Linked DNA regions of Homo sapiens: all the other regions are linked to region 2. The links are contacts of gene promoters, found by promoter capture Hi-C in human tissues and cell types (Jung and others, 2019). All regions are on one chromosome and are shown on one strand. Each heading gives the region's core, a stretch centred on a gene start or on the middle of the fragment in contact. The rest is flanking DNA. Distances are from core to core; before and after follow the strand shown. Region 1 overlaps ZZEF1 (zinc finger ZZ-type and EF-hand domain containing 1). Region 2 holds the start of TSR1 (TSR1 ribosome maturation factor). Region 3 has its middle 48 kb from the start of TRARG1.

The links. Contacts are between HindIII fragments. The study calls those that stand out against the background at their distance.
Region 1: a contact is called between a fragment that was not itself captured here and the fragment with the promoter of TSR1 in region 2, in 1 of the 25 tissues and cell types used here (H1 embryonic stem cells).
Region 3: a fragment that was not itself captured here is called in contact with the fragment with the promoter of TSR1 in region 2 in 2 of the 25 tissues and cell types used here (heart left ventricle and stomach).

The regions. Positions count from the first base shown.
Region 1 is chr17:4,103,512-4,108,102 of GRCh38, forward strand. ZZEF1 (zinc finger ZZ-type and EF-hand domain containing 1) reads right to left here. Exons shown (of 55, transcript NM_015113.4): 7 at 2,182-2,298; 8 at 1,122-1,300. Among named protein-coding and RNA genes, the nearest start is that of ZZEF1, 37 kb to the right of the region's middle. The HindIII fragment of the contact is 5,712 bases long and covers 1-4,451 here.
Region 2 is chr17:2,334,413-2,339,254 of GRCh38, forward strand. It overlaps TSR1 (TSR1 ribosome maturation factor), which reads right to left and starts at 2,045. Exons shown (of 15, transcript NM_018128.5): 1 at 1,919-2,045; 2 at 1,625-1,728; 3 at 1,099-1,318; 4 at 848-982; 5 at 60-484. The coding sequence starts at 2,015. It overlaps SGSM2 (small G protein signaling modulator 2), which reads left to right and starts at 3,089. Exons shown (of 24, transcript NM_014853.3): 1 at 3,089-3,333. The coding sequence starts at 3,277. RefSeq lists an enhancer at 2,213-2,322 and silencers at 2,553-2,682, 2,713-3,022, 3,123-3,232, 3,333-3,432, 3,463-3,772. The HindIII fragment of the contact is 7,910 bases long and covers 1-4,842 here.
Region 3 is chr17:1,325,269-1,329,748 of GRCh38, forward strand. No RefSeq gene overlaps it. Among named protein-coding and RNA genes, the nearest start is that of TRARG1, 48 kb to the left of the region's middle. The HindIII fragment of the contact is 9,860 bases long and covers 1-4,480 here.

The sequences.
Region 1 (4,591 bases), core at 346-2,845, 1.8 Mb after region 2:
ACTCCAACCTGGATGACAGAGCAGGACTCTGTCTCAAAAAATAAATAAATAAAAATAAAAATAAACATAAAAAGAAGCCATTAAGTCAGTCACACTAAGACGAAGGTAGAAACCTCACGGCAGAAGCCAGGTGTGGTGGCTCACGCCTGCAGTCCCAGGATTTTAAGAGGCCAAGGTGGGAGGACTGCTTCAGCCTAGGAGTTCAAGACCAGCTTGGGCAACATAGTGAGACCCAATCTCTACAAAAAATTTTTAAAAATTAACCAGGTATGCTGGCATGCACCTGTGGTCCCAGGTACTCGGGAGAGTGACACAGGAGGATCACTTGAGCCTGGGAGGTCAAGGCTGCAGTGAGCCGTGATCATGCCACTGCACTCCAATCTGTGCAACACAGCAAGACACTCTCTCTCAAAATAAATAAAAGGGTAGAAATGTCACTGGAATACTGCCAACAGGATGAGACCCAACACCACATATTGTGGAGTCCAGGAAGGCTGCACTCACAAGTAGAAGTGCTGCACTGCAGTCTTTTGGGAGTGACTTTATGGGCTCCCATGTTGAGAAGGATTATAAGGCCCCATCCTGGTTTGGTAGAAAAGTGCTCATATGAATTACTGCTAGGCCCAAGGGGGGAAAGCAGTGGCAGACAGGTGTCCAAATCCTTCAGAGCAGCTATCACGGGAATGCAGAGGAATGCATTCTAAGACAAAGATCCCTTTGCACCGTATCTTGGCTAGTTTCCTCCCTCCAACAGGTAAGAACTACTCCAACCCTCTTGGCCTACACAATGAGACACTTCAGTACTTCACCAAAGATGGCTGTGTTCAAATGGCCACCAGACCTGAGTAATTTTGCAAGCAGATCATGGGAGTATAGCCTTGTGGACAATCAAGTGTCCTCTTCTGGTGATACTGCCATCACATAAATGAACCTAAATCCCCCTTCTCCCTGCCAATCCTAGTAAGGTCTGATACTCAGAGGATACGTTCATCCAGGAATCATGGTGTAACTATAACAACCCAAAAAGATGAGAAGATACCAGGAGGTCATATGGCGAAGAATGGTTTTACGATTTGTCCACTGTTGACATTTCTATCACCCCCATGTTTTACCATATTTACCATATTTGAGGAGCAGGTTCTGTCTGACTGACGCCATGGACAAGATGAGGGATGAGGCATCATACTGCGTGTCCAGATGGTCAGTGATGGTGCATAGAGAGCTCATGACTTTGGCAACACTTCCTCTTGCGAGAGCAAAAGCCAGAAGAGTCAGTTCTACCTCTGGGGTAGAACAGCAGCTATAAGCAAAGAGCAAAAACTTTTCACTTCTTAAAAACATGAAAAAATCCAGGTAGCTCAAACCCCATGTAAGTGATCAACACAAGTAACATTAACCTGCCATATGCTTTCTACAGGTTTATCCGAAATATTTTTCAAAATCCTTAAGGTAACCTAAGGAAAAATTAAATCAATCCAGAGAGCCAGGGAATGAAAGCCTCACTTCTATAATCTTTAATCTTTAAATATTAAATAATACCAATACGCTACTGTAATAAGCCTCTGCTATTAAGAAGCCTTGGGTAATGAGCTGGCTTGACCAGAGAGTTGAGGGTTTATGCTTGAAGCACTAAAAATGTATCACACTGAATTACACTTCTTTGCTTTTAATTTAAACACATTATACTGAAACGTTAAAAACTGTCTAGATGGCTCAGGGACTGGTTTGACCTCTAATGCAATAATGTCCTCAGGGCTCACTGAGGCAGAAGTGAGTGTCCCTACACAAAGTGGTCACTGCTATCAAGCTATCCAGGTGCCCTTTCCCAGTTCTGTAGGTAATCAGGCTCCCTGGACCTGCATGTGAAGGTCAGCAGGTTCTGAGTGAGGGAAGGCTATGCCAGTTGGACTTTGAGACATCTGTTCTATCAGAATCACAGGACTACTCCCCTTGGGCCCTGCAACACCCCTCACCAACCTTCCCAATTCTTCAGGTCAGGTGATACTGCTAAATAGTGGACTTTAGATGAGTGAACTATTATGTCACTTTCTCTTTAGCTGCTAAAAAGCAACCATTTTTAGTGGTGATCGTTAAAAGATTAATATATATTTTTTAAAGACTTAACAAGCATACGTGCACTCCATTCCTCACAGAGTTTACCCTCATCAGCCTTGATTTTACCTAGTTATCCTTATGAGGAAACTGTCCACTTCTTCCAGCACATTAGGGGAGAGGAAAGTTGAGAAATCTGTAGATCCTGGTGAGAGAGAGAGTGGAGGCATGTGCCGCAGCGCCTTCCTAGAAGAGGAAAATGTAAAATGTAATCAGAACAAAACCAGACCGAATTTAGACAAAAAATAAACTGTTAGAAGCTTGTTTTGACTAATCCCTTATAAACAGACAGTGTTCCCACAGAGAAGCTGGCACACAATATAAACTGGCCCTTCTTTTTTTTTGAGACGGAGTCTCGCTCTATCACCCAGGCTAGAGTGCAGTGGTGCGATCTCGGCTCACTGCAACCTCCACCTCCCAGGTTCAAGCGATTCTCCTGCCTCAGCTTCCTGAGTAGCTAGGATTACAGGAGCCCGCCACCACGCTTGACTAATTTGTATTTTTAGTAGAGACAGGGTTTCACCATCTTGGCCAGGCTGGGCTTGAACTCCTGACCTCGTGATCCACCTACCTCGTCCTCCCACAGTGCTATGATTACAGGTGTAAGCCACCGTGCCCAGCCTAAACTATCCCTTTTTGCCCAGGAGTCACAGTGCTAAGTAGTTTAATAGGGTTTTGTGTTTGTTTGTTTCTTTCTTTCTTTTAGGAGTTCTGCCTCCCTCTGTTGAATAAAACTTATTCAACTCTCTAGAATCCAGCTTTCATGTTAAGTAGTACTAGAAAAACTGACCCAAGAGGCAGAGCAGCTTGAGGCTCAGTAGAAAATTTATTTTATAATTTGTTCAGCAGCAACAGGGAAAAAAAAAAAACAAAAGAAAATTTTATAGCTAGGATCTGAAGATCTATGGTATCTAAAGATGTGCCATGAATGTTATGTTCTCTTAAACAGATTAGCACATCACCGTCTCCATTCCTGCCATGTTTCTTGGCCTTTCCACCTTAATGTCTGTTTTAGTGTTTCCCTTTTCTTGTCTTTGCTTACATTTATCTTTCTGAATCCCCCAATAGCTTTACCTACTCTAGATTAGCAGTCATCAAAAATTTACGCAACAAATGACTTCTGAGCCCTACTGTGTGCCAGCAACTGTGCTAGGTGACTGAATGTACCATGAAAAATTTCAAGGTATTCTGTGAATGTATCAAAAGTAACTCAAAATTCTACAACTGATAGTCGCTTAATGATAATGGTAATGAAAATCCCTGAAACAATTTCATTTCTACATTTCAAAATAGAGACAATAAAGCAAAGCAAACACTGTCAGCTCGCACTCTGCCCTAGTTCTGTTCCTGTCTACACAATGAGCCATTTTGGGGTTGCACAAACATGGCAGCTACACACAGATGCAGCTGATCAGTGAGGTTTAATGCACACAAGTAGCATGCGATCATTTACTGAATTTATTTCCACTGATACAGGCAACACTTCTGTCCCAAAATATTCTTTTCCTTACCTATTTTTCCTCATTGATATTTTTTCAATAAATCTTTAATTTTAAAATAGATTTAGATCACTAATCTTAAAAAGGCAGGAGTGCATGAAAATATCATTGCAGATGAACTAGTAAAACTGAGCAGGGACACAGACTTTAAAATCTGTCCATTCTTCAACCACTTGCCACATCTTCAAAAAAAATATAGAAACCTCTTCCTTTTCCTGAAAATCCAGTCCACAAGATGGGACTGTGCAGTGCAGACATTTGTATGTGTCTGGGGAGTAAGGGGGAGTCGTCATGGTGGCCTACAGTGAGGTTTTAGAGCCTGAGCAGGGTGAGAAAGGTGTCTTCACAAAGGTACGGCCTGATATGGAATGCAGGCACCAAGTGAGGCAAGAAGGGTGGCCTGGCACAGGGTATAGGAACTCGAGGAAGATAAGAAGGGCATCTGTGCAAGGATGGCCACAGCAGCAGCTCTGCAAAAGATGCTGGAGCAGGAATGGGATAGGGAGGGTGTCCATGCAAGGGCAGGGGCAATGGGACACTGGTTACATAGAGGCGAACTGAGTAAGTACAAAAAATGTATTAAGGATCATGGGAAGCAAGTTTCTTAGTATCAGAGAAGGCAGTCACAAATAAAGAAATAGGCTGGGCATGGTGGCTCATGCCTGTAATCTCTGCACTTTGGGAGACCGAGGTGGGTGGATCTCCACCTAAAGAGCCCCTGATTCAGAAAAATGGCTGATTCCAGGACTAATGCAGGGAACATTCAAGATAAGCCTGGAATATCTTGTGTCAGAACATATGGAAGCATTCCGAGAATAATGAGACATGTCAAAAGGACACACAAGCCAGACTGCAGGGGTTGCCACCAGCCAACTCCAGGATAACATAAGCATCAAAACTGTGGCTGACTATAATCTAGTGCATAAAAGAGGAATCCACTAACATAAAGTTTTGATGAGGAATACGATATTTACATAGTC
Region 2 (4,842 bases), core at 795-3,294:
TTAAGTTTCCTTCCTGTGCCAACTTTCATATGAACATGAATTAAGAATATCAGTCTTACCTCCATTGCCATGTCTGGGTCCTTTTGGGGTTTAATTCCTCTAGGATTTAAAGGGAAAGGGTCTCCGGGGGCATCTATCTGTTTCATCTGGAAATCACCATATCCAACGATATGCAGCAACCTATTGACATTCAGAGTCTGCCCTCGAACATAGCCTGAAATTTTCAAGGTGCCCACCAAGTTATTCTCTTCACTAGGAACAAAATCAACAGCATGGGCAAATAGGTAGGCCCGCCGATCTCGAAAAGCAAGATGCTGTTGCTTCTGGTTAGCCAACTGCCTAAGCAGCATCCCTGCCTCCTGTTGAGTGTCTAACAAGAGGAGTTTGTCATGCGGAAAGCGCTTCTCCACTGCTTTACTTAGCTTCTTCCTGGTATCTATTTGTTTCTTCAGTGGGAGGCCAGAAATCCCCTGGACAGCTAGTGCTGTAAGCGAAAGAGAAAACGCTTCATGACCTACTGCTTCATTACATAAAAATCCCTCTGCAGTTCACAAACAACCTAATAGCTCAGTTGCAAGCCCAGAGATCACTGGGAAGCCCAACACTGAACTACCCTGAAGGAATTTCACAGTGAAATCAAACTTCATATCCTTGTTTCTCTGGGCAAAGGACAGCCAAAAACAAAAAGACACCCTGAGTGATAATCTGTAAACAATGGATCAAGTTTAATCCATATGTGTACATCCCACCACCAGCTGAATATGATCCATCAGTTGTATTCCTGTATCAAATACCAGGCATAGTGCCTGACAAATTAAAGGTGCACAATAAATGCTAACTCACTTACTATAGGTCGGAAGGCCCTGAGCAAAGAGGCAGGAAAGACAGTAATCACCGGTGCTGTCCCAGCCTTCTAGTGGATCAAGGAGGAACAGGATGGTATCAGCTACTTTAGCCATGTCTAACACAACGTGCAGATCCCCTGCAGATAGAAGACACAGTAAGAAGAGGTGGTTGGCACCAGCACATTATTCTAAAAAAAAAAAAAAAAAATACCACTACTCAAACATAATACAAAATATTGGTGTATACTCTAACCTGGCCTTGCTGAGGTGAAAAACCACCGATGTTTCAAGCGGGGGCACAGCAGCATAAAGTTCTGGGTGTTTCCCAATTCATTCAAGTGTACTGTTCCAGTGTCCCTATCTTGAAGCAGCTGCATGGCCTCTGGCAGGGAAATTCTGCTGTGCAGGGGCACCACCAGTACCTGATGAGGAGGGCCATCCTTGCCACCCAGCTGTCTCTTCTCTGCCAGAACCTGAAAATAGAAAGATATCCGAGAACATCTCAGTGTCTCAGTACTTCACTCCAGCATTGCATTTCCACTCCCACAGATGCTCCCCCTACCCAAAACCAGCATCTCTCTAGTAAAAGACCACAGGTATGCCAGCGGGGTGGCAGGAATTCTGACCAAAGCAAAGAATGCTAGACCTGCACGCTCGACACGTGCTCTAGGGCTATGCTCTGTCCCTGGACCCTCCTCCCGGTCTCATTTTCCACTTCGAGGCATTAGCCACCTAGAACACCAGAGAAGCCGCATTCTCCCAAATCCCGCTCCTCTCACCGCCTCCTTCTTCTGCTTTCGGAGCTGGCTGGCGCGATGCCTCTGGTCGACTCTGCTGAGTTCTTTTCTCACCTTCTTGCTTAGGGTTTTCAGTGCCAGACGGCCTGAATGGCAGATTAGAAGGGGCTGGTGTGATCGGCCCCACAAGGTCAAGAAAAGGGACTCCTCTCCGCCCACCTTAGAAAGGGCCTTTCGCGTGGAGCCCAGACGGGAGACAGAAGCTCAGTCTGGGCATGAGGAAAAAGAGTTAATAACGGCCAAATAGCCCTTATTCCTTCTACGTTATCTCCTTACCCTTGCCGTCCCGCTGTGCAGATCCCCGACCCCGATGCCGTCCGCCTTTATGAGCTTTATTCTGCTGCTTGAGCGGGCCGGGGCGGTGGGCCGCCATGCCGCAGCGCGCGTGTACGGAGTCAGCACTGCTTCCGGGCCAGGACAAGCGCTTCCGGTCCCCTCCAAGGGGGCGGGCCCTCCAGGGAGCGGGACTCCCTGCGCCCTCTCGCGAAGGTCTTTTCCAGCAGCTCGTGAGAGCGCCGTGTTAGCGGGTTCGCCAAGCCGCGCTGGGAACTTTTCCCACTTCGCAGTGTGTGGTTGGGGGCTTGAAGGCGCCGGATGTAGACTGTCGAGGCTCGGGCTGTTGGTCTAGCAGGGCTGTTTGTACCCCTTGCATTGTCATTTTTTTGCGCTATAAAGCTGCATCACGTAGAAGCATGTTGACTGGAAGGCTCCATTCGTGCCGAAAAGGCCTAAGCCCTTCCTGTCACCTAGATTCGGGCACGTTGCTCTTCCGTTTGCAACGGCATGTTCTTTATCACTCTGAGCAACCTTTCTTCTCCCTCGATTCCCTAGCGAGGCTTGGGAATCGCGTGGAAGACACTTCTCTCACCTTGCCCGGTTCCGTACCAGCTCAAGCCCGTCCCTGTTACTCCAACCTGCGCCCCGCCTCCCACGGAGCGGCCGGGAAGGACCTTGTGGGACGTGGCGACCCGGCAAGGGGGACTGGCCGCGACCCTCCGGCCGTCGGGCTCGGGCGGCTGCGCTCCCACTAATCTTCCCAGAAACTTGACAACTGCACGGCGACGGCCGGACGGGGATTCAGAGGGGTCACGGGGCCAGGCTGCACCGGCTTCGCCGTGGGCAGGCTCGGACCGCAGGGGACCCCATGCCCGAGCCCCGGCCCTTTCCGTCCCGTCGGGAGAGGGAGCAGGCAGAAGTCAGGGGAGCTTCAGCGGGACCGAGGCTCGCTCTCAGCCGCGGGGCCGCGGGCTCCAGGGCCAGCGCTCACAATGCGGCTTCGCGCCCTCCATGCGGGAGCGGGTGCGTTGCCATGACAGCGACCCCCGTGGCGCGCGCCCGGGTCTGCCGCCCCTAGGCGCGCACGGCCTCTCCCCGCCCCGATCCCCCGTCGCTGTGCGCAACCCCCCTCCGGCTGTGGGAAGGGGCCGGGCCTGCCGCCTGACGTCTGTGCGGGGCTCGGAAGATGGCTGCGGAGCCGAGCACCGGGCAGTGGCTGCGGCGGCGGCGGCGGCGGCGGGCCGGGAGCGCGGCGGGCGGGGGCTCCGCCTTGCGCGTGGGGCGCTGAGCCGAGAGGCGCGGAGGCGGCGAGGGCGCGGGGGCTCTGAGGACCGCTCGGCGCCGCCTCCTGCCACACCATGGGCAGCGCAGAGGACGCAGTCAAAGAGAAACTGCTGTGGAACGTGAAGAAGGAGGTAAAGTCGAGTCAAGAACCCCGGGGGGCTCGCGCCCTGGCCCGCGCGGCCCAGGGGGCAGAAAGGTCCGCGCCCACCCCCCGGCGCGGGCACCCGGGCCGAACCTGGGCCGGGCGGGGCGGGTCCTGGACGGGCTGCGCCTCCTTCCCCTTTCTCGGATGGGGGAGGGCAGCGCCCCTCTGCCCGGGGGACCCGGCCGGCGCTCCCGGCTTGTTTGCTTCGCAGCCCCGCAGCTCCCCGCCCAGTGACGGCAGCGGCGCTGGGAGCCCAAGGCCGGGGGAGGGGTGGCGGCGATGGCGGGGATGGCTGGATCCGGAGCTGCCCATTCAGTGCCCGCGCCGCCAGGGGAGGGGGCGGGGCCCCGCGCGAGCTCCCGCGGCGCAGGTGGGTGTCGTGCGGGCCGAGCTTCCCCACGTCCTAAGTGGGTGTCGTGCGGGCTGAGCTCCCCCTTGTCCGACGTCCGCTGTGCCTCCAGCTACGGAGTGATCGCTGCCGGAGGGGTGCGCCGCACACCTCAGTTTCTCCCTCCACGCCCACCTCCTTAGCCAGGGACCAGGGGCTTGTTTGGAATGGTTTTTAACACTCGGAAGTTTTTCCCTTTTGAGGGAAGCCCCCCTACTTCAGAAAGAGAAGTAGTCCTTCCCTCTACTAACTCCGTTTACCTTGACCCTGCCCAAAAGCCCATTTCCATTTCGGGTGGGGGGCAGTGACCATGTGAATGACTCACTCCCATATGAGAGCTGGAGAGCTCCAACCCACAGCGCAGCTTAGAATACATTGGGCCTCCTTCCCCTGCCTGCCTCTGTGGCTGTTGTCTGCCTGGTAAGTAAACTCCACCAGGGCAGGAGACCCTCTGTTTTGTCCACTGCCTTGTATCCAGTGCCTGGCATACTGTAGGCACTCCGTGACTGTTTGGTAAATAAATGTGCTGATTTTGGAGACTTCGAGGCCTGGTGTTTGGAAAGCATACATTTTGGAATAGTCTGGACCTAATTCTGTGTGACCTTGAGTCTCTATGCCGTCTCCCTAATATATATATATATAACCTCACGCCTGTAATCCCAGCACGTTGGGAGGCCTAGGTGGGTGGATCACCTGAGCTCAGGAGTTCGAGATCAGCCTGGCCAATATAGTGAAACCCCGTCTCTACTAAAAATACCAAAATAAGCCAGGGGTGGTGGTGCGTGCCTGTAATCCCAGCTACCCGGGAGACTGAGGCAGGAGAATCGCTGGAACCTGGGAGGTGGAGATTGCAGTGAGCCGATATTGTGCCACTGCACTCCAGCCTGGGCGACAGAGTGAGACTCCGTCTCAAAAAAAAAAAAGTTTACCTTAGCTGAGCCGTAATTAGAGTTTCAGGGTTGGGGAAGCGTCTGGACTCTCATAACATCCTGGAAAGTGGACAGGCGCGGTGGCTTACGCCTGTAATCCCAGCACTTTGGGAGGCTGAGGCGGGTAGATCACGAGGTCAGGAGTTCCAGACCAGCCTGGCCAAGATGGTGAAACCCC
Region 3 (4,480 bases), core at 664-3,163, 1.0 Mb before region 2:
AGTAGGTGGGATCACAGGTGCCTGCCACCAAGCCCGGCTAATTTTTGTATTTTTAGTAGAGACGGGGTTTCACCATGTTGGCCAGGCTGGTCTCAAACTCCTGACCTCAGGTGATCCACCCACCTCGGCCTCCCAAAGTTCTGGGATTAAAGGCGTGCGCTACTGCACCCGGCCTTGATCCATATTTTCTATAATAAACACATATTGATTTTGTCAGAAAAAAATGTAATAAAAATGCTTAGATGCTAGACCAGTGGATTGATCCATGAAAATTTGCCATTTTCAACAGAAGATTGCTGGGAGCTTTGGGCTAAAATAAAATTTCATACCATAATCAAAGACATTCAAATAATAACAATATAGATTCTTTCCTGGAATAAACAACTTCTTTAAGGCAAATGTCCACATTTCCTTGGAGTTAAATATTAATCTGATAGAACTCAGCCTAGGAGATGAAATTTAGTTTATGTGAAATTTTTATGAACTAATAAATGGGCTGGATCAAACAGCAGGACCAGAATAGAGTCACAAAGAGGTGTTACAAGATCAAGCATTTACTGTGAATTCTCCATTGCTTTCTTAAAAGGGTATCAACTTGGATGAGGCACTTACCTACCTAGCGTCTACAGCATAGCACCTACACGCCTAGACAGTGTCCCGGGTGGGAAGCCGTGCTGGAAGCGGAAAGCGGCTGTGAGAAGGGAAATTAGCAAGACCCTTATCCGAGGCGAGCTGGGAGAGCCACTCTTGGGTTCTCTTTGCATAGGTCACCTTCAGCAGGAAGTTTAAAAGCTGGAACCATGTTCAGTTAAATATAAATATCAAGTCGTGCTTGATGGGGTTCCAGAGGAGCCACGGCCCAGACGCCATAGTCGCCAACTGTGCACCACCATAAATGATCGGATATGATCCGATGCACAGGGCTCACGGCTCCATTAATGGTTCAGTGCTCCAATCTCCTACCAGAGTGGAGCTTCTGAAGTGCTCTTGGCTAAACAGAACAGTCTCCATCCATCCATTAAGAAACATGTTTTCAATACTGATGTTTTCAAAGCAACCTATTTCTCTTGTTAAAAACATAATTCAAATAATTTAAAAATGCAGTCTGGGCCGGGCACAGTGGCTCACACTTGAAATCCCAGCACTTTGGGAGGCCGAGGCAGGAGGATCACTTGAGGTCAGGAGTTCGAGACCAGCCTGGCCAACATGGGAAAACCCCATCTCTCCTAAAAATATAAAAATTAGCCTGGCATGGTGGCGCCCGCCTGTAGTCCCAGCTACTCAGGAGGCTGAGGCAAGAGAATCACTTGAACCTGGGAGGCAGAGGTTGCAATGAGCCGAGATTGTGCTACTGTACTCCAGCCTGGGCAAAAGAGTGAGACTCCATCTCAAAAACAAAAAAGAAAACAGGAAGGACCATTTAGGTAGTGTTATGGACTGAATATTTGTGTCCCTCTAAAATTCATATGTGGACGGCTGGGCGCGGTGGCTCACGCCTGTAATCCCAGCACTTTGGGAGGCCGAGGAGGGCGGATCACGAGGTCAGGAGATCAAGACCATCCTGGCTAACACGGTGAAACCCTGTCTCTACTAAAAATACAAAAAATTAGCCGGGCGTCGTGATGGGCACCTGTAGTCCCAGCTACTTGGGAGGCTGAGGCAGGAGAATGGCGTGAACCCGGGAGACGGAGCTTGCAGTGAGCAGAGATCGTACCACTGCACTCCAGCCTGGGCAACAGAGCAAGACTCCGTCTCAAAAAAAAAAAAATTCATATGTGGACATCTGAACCTCCAATGTGATGGTATTAGGATGTGGGGCTTTGAGAGATGATTCGGTCAGGCAGGCAGAGCCTTCATGAATGACATTAGTGGCTGTTTTTGTTTTTTCTTTCTGGAGATGGAGTTTTGCTCTTGTTGCCCAGGCTGGAGTGCAGTGGTGTGATCTTGGCTCACCACAACTTCTGCCTCCTGGGTTCAAGCGATTCTTCTGCCTCAGCCCCCCGAGTAGCTGGGATTACAGGCGCCCGCCACCACACCCGGCTAATTTTGTATTTTTAGTAGAGACAGGGTTTCTCCATGTTGGTCAGGTTGGTCTCAAACTCCCAAACTCAGGTGATCCACCCACCTCGGGCTCCCAAAGTGCTGGGATTATAGGCGTGAGCCACCGCACCTGGCCAAGCTTAGTGACCTTTTAAGAAGAGATATAGGGGGCCTGGCGCGGTGGCTCACGCCTGTAATCCCAGCACTTTGGGAGGCCAAGGTGGGTGGATCATGAGGTCAGGAGATCGAGACCATCCCGACTAACACGGTGAAACCCCGTCTCTACTAAAAATACCAAAAAATTAGCCGGGTGTGGGGTGGGAGCCCATAGTCCCAGCTACTTGGGAGGCTGAGACAGGAGAATGGCCTGAACCCGGGAGACGGAGCTTGCAGTGAGCCGAGATCACGCCACTGCACTCCAGCCTGGGGGATAGAGCAAGACTCCGTCTCAAAAAACAGAGACACGAGGCTTGCTCTGTCTCTCTGTCTCTGCTGTCTGCCAGGTGGGGACGGAGTGTCCATCTGCAAACCAGGACCCTCGGCCGACGCTGGGTCTGCCTGCACCTTCACCTCAGACTTCCCAGCCTCCAGAACGGTGGGAAATATAGGTTGTTCAAACTACCCAGTCTATGGTAATTTGTTATAGTAGCTTAAACTAAGAAAGATAGTTTTTGTCTTTGTTTTCTTTTTAAAGTGTACAATTCTGGCTGGGTGCGGTGGCTCACGCCTGTAATCCCAGTACTTTGGGAGGCCAAGAGGCCGAGGAGGGTGGATCACCTGAGGTCAGGAGTTCGAGACCAGCCTGGCCAACGTGGCAAAACCCCGTCTCTACTAAAAATACAAAAATTAGCTGGGCGTGGTGGTGGGTGCCTGTAGTCCCAACTACTAGGGAGGGTGAGGCAGGAGAATCCCTTGAACCTGGGAGGCGGAGGTTGCAGTGAGCCGAGATCACACCATTGCCCTCCAGCCTGGACGACGGAGTAAGAATCCGTCTCAAAAAGTAAATAAATAAATGGCACAATTCAGTGGCATTGAGTACATTCCCATTTGTGTAACTACCACTTCTACGTGGTTTGAAAACACCTCATGATTCCAAAAGAAATCACCATACCCGTTATGCAGTCCCTCCCATAGGTTTTAAAACAAGGAGGAAGTGGCCTGGCACGGGTCTCTGACCCAGTACCCCACAGAGACAGCCGGAAGGACTCTGAGCCAGTACCCCACAGAGACAGCCGGAAGGACTCTGAGCCAGTACCCCACAGAGACTGCTGGAAGGACTCTGATCCAGTACCCCACAGAGAAACACTGGAAGGACTCTGACCCGGTATCCCACAGAGATAGCCGGAAGGACTCTGACCCTGTACCCCACATAGATAGCCGGAAGGACTCTGAGCCAGTACCCCACAGAGACCGCTGGAAGGACTCTGATCCAGTACCCCACAGAGAAACCCTGGAAGGACTCTGACCCAGTACCCCACAGAGATAGCCAGAAGGACTCTGACCCTGTACCCCACAGAGATAGCTGGAAGGACTCTGAGCCAGTACCCCACAGAGACAGCCAGAAGGACTCTGACCCAGTACCCCACAGAGACCGCTGGAAGGACTCTGATCCAGTATCCCACAGAGAAACACTGGAAGGACTCTGACCCAGTACCCCACAGAGACCACTGGAAGGACTCTGACCCAGTACCCCACAGGGACCACTGGAAGGACTCTGGCCCGGTACCCCACAGAGACTGCTGGAAGGACTCTGACCCAGTACCCCACAGAAACCATGGGAAGGACTCTGACCCAGTACTCCAGAGGGCCCACTGGAAGGACTCTGACCCAGTACCCGACAGAGACCACTGGAAGGACCCTGACCAAGTACACCACAGAGACTGCTGGAAGGACTCTGACCCAGTACCTCAGAGGGCCCACTGGAAGGACTCTAAGCCAGTACCCCACAGAGACCGCTAGAAGGACTCTGACTCGGTACTCCACAGAGATTGCTAGAAGGACTCTGACCCAGTACCCCACAGAGACCACTGGAAGGACTCTGACCCAGTACCCCACAGAGACAGCTGGAAGGACTCTGACCCAGTACCCCACAGTTCTAAGGAAGAGGGTTAGTCCACGGAGCTGCAGAGGTGCCCGCTCCGGCTCTATGGGGTCAGCAGGAGGTGACTCAGGACCACCTCTGAAGATGGGCTTTGGGTCCTGAGCTCATGCACACAAGCAAATTGGTGTTAAAACCCGACAGCGTTTGCTTGTATTCCTTTCCCCAGTCACTCAGCAACCACTTAATGCAGACAGTGTGCCAGATGCTGAGGCCACTGCCCCGGGGTGAGTTATGAGGGGGTCAGCCTCTCCTTCCTTTGCCTTCCCATCCCCACCGAGAGAGGAGAAGCAACTCCGGCATGGGGTGGGAGGGCAGGACGTTGGGAGGCAGAGGGAACTC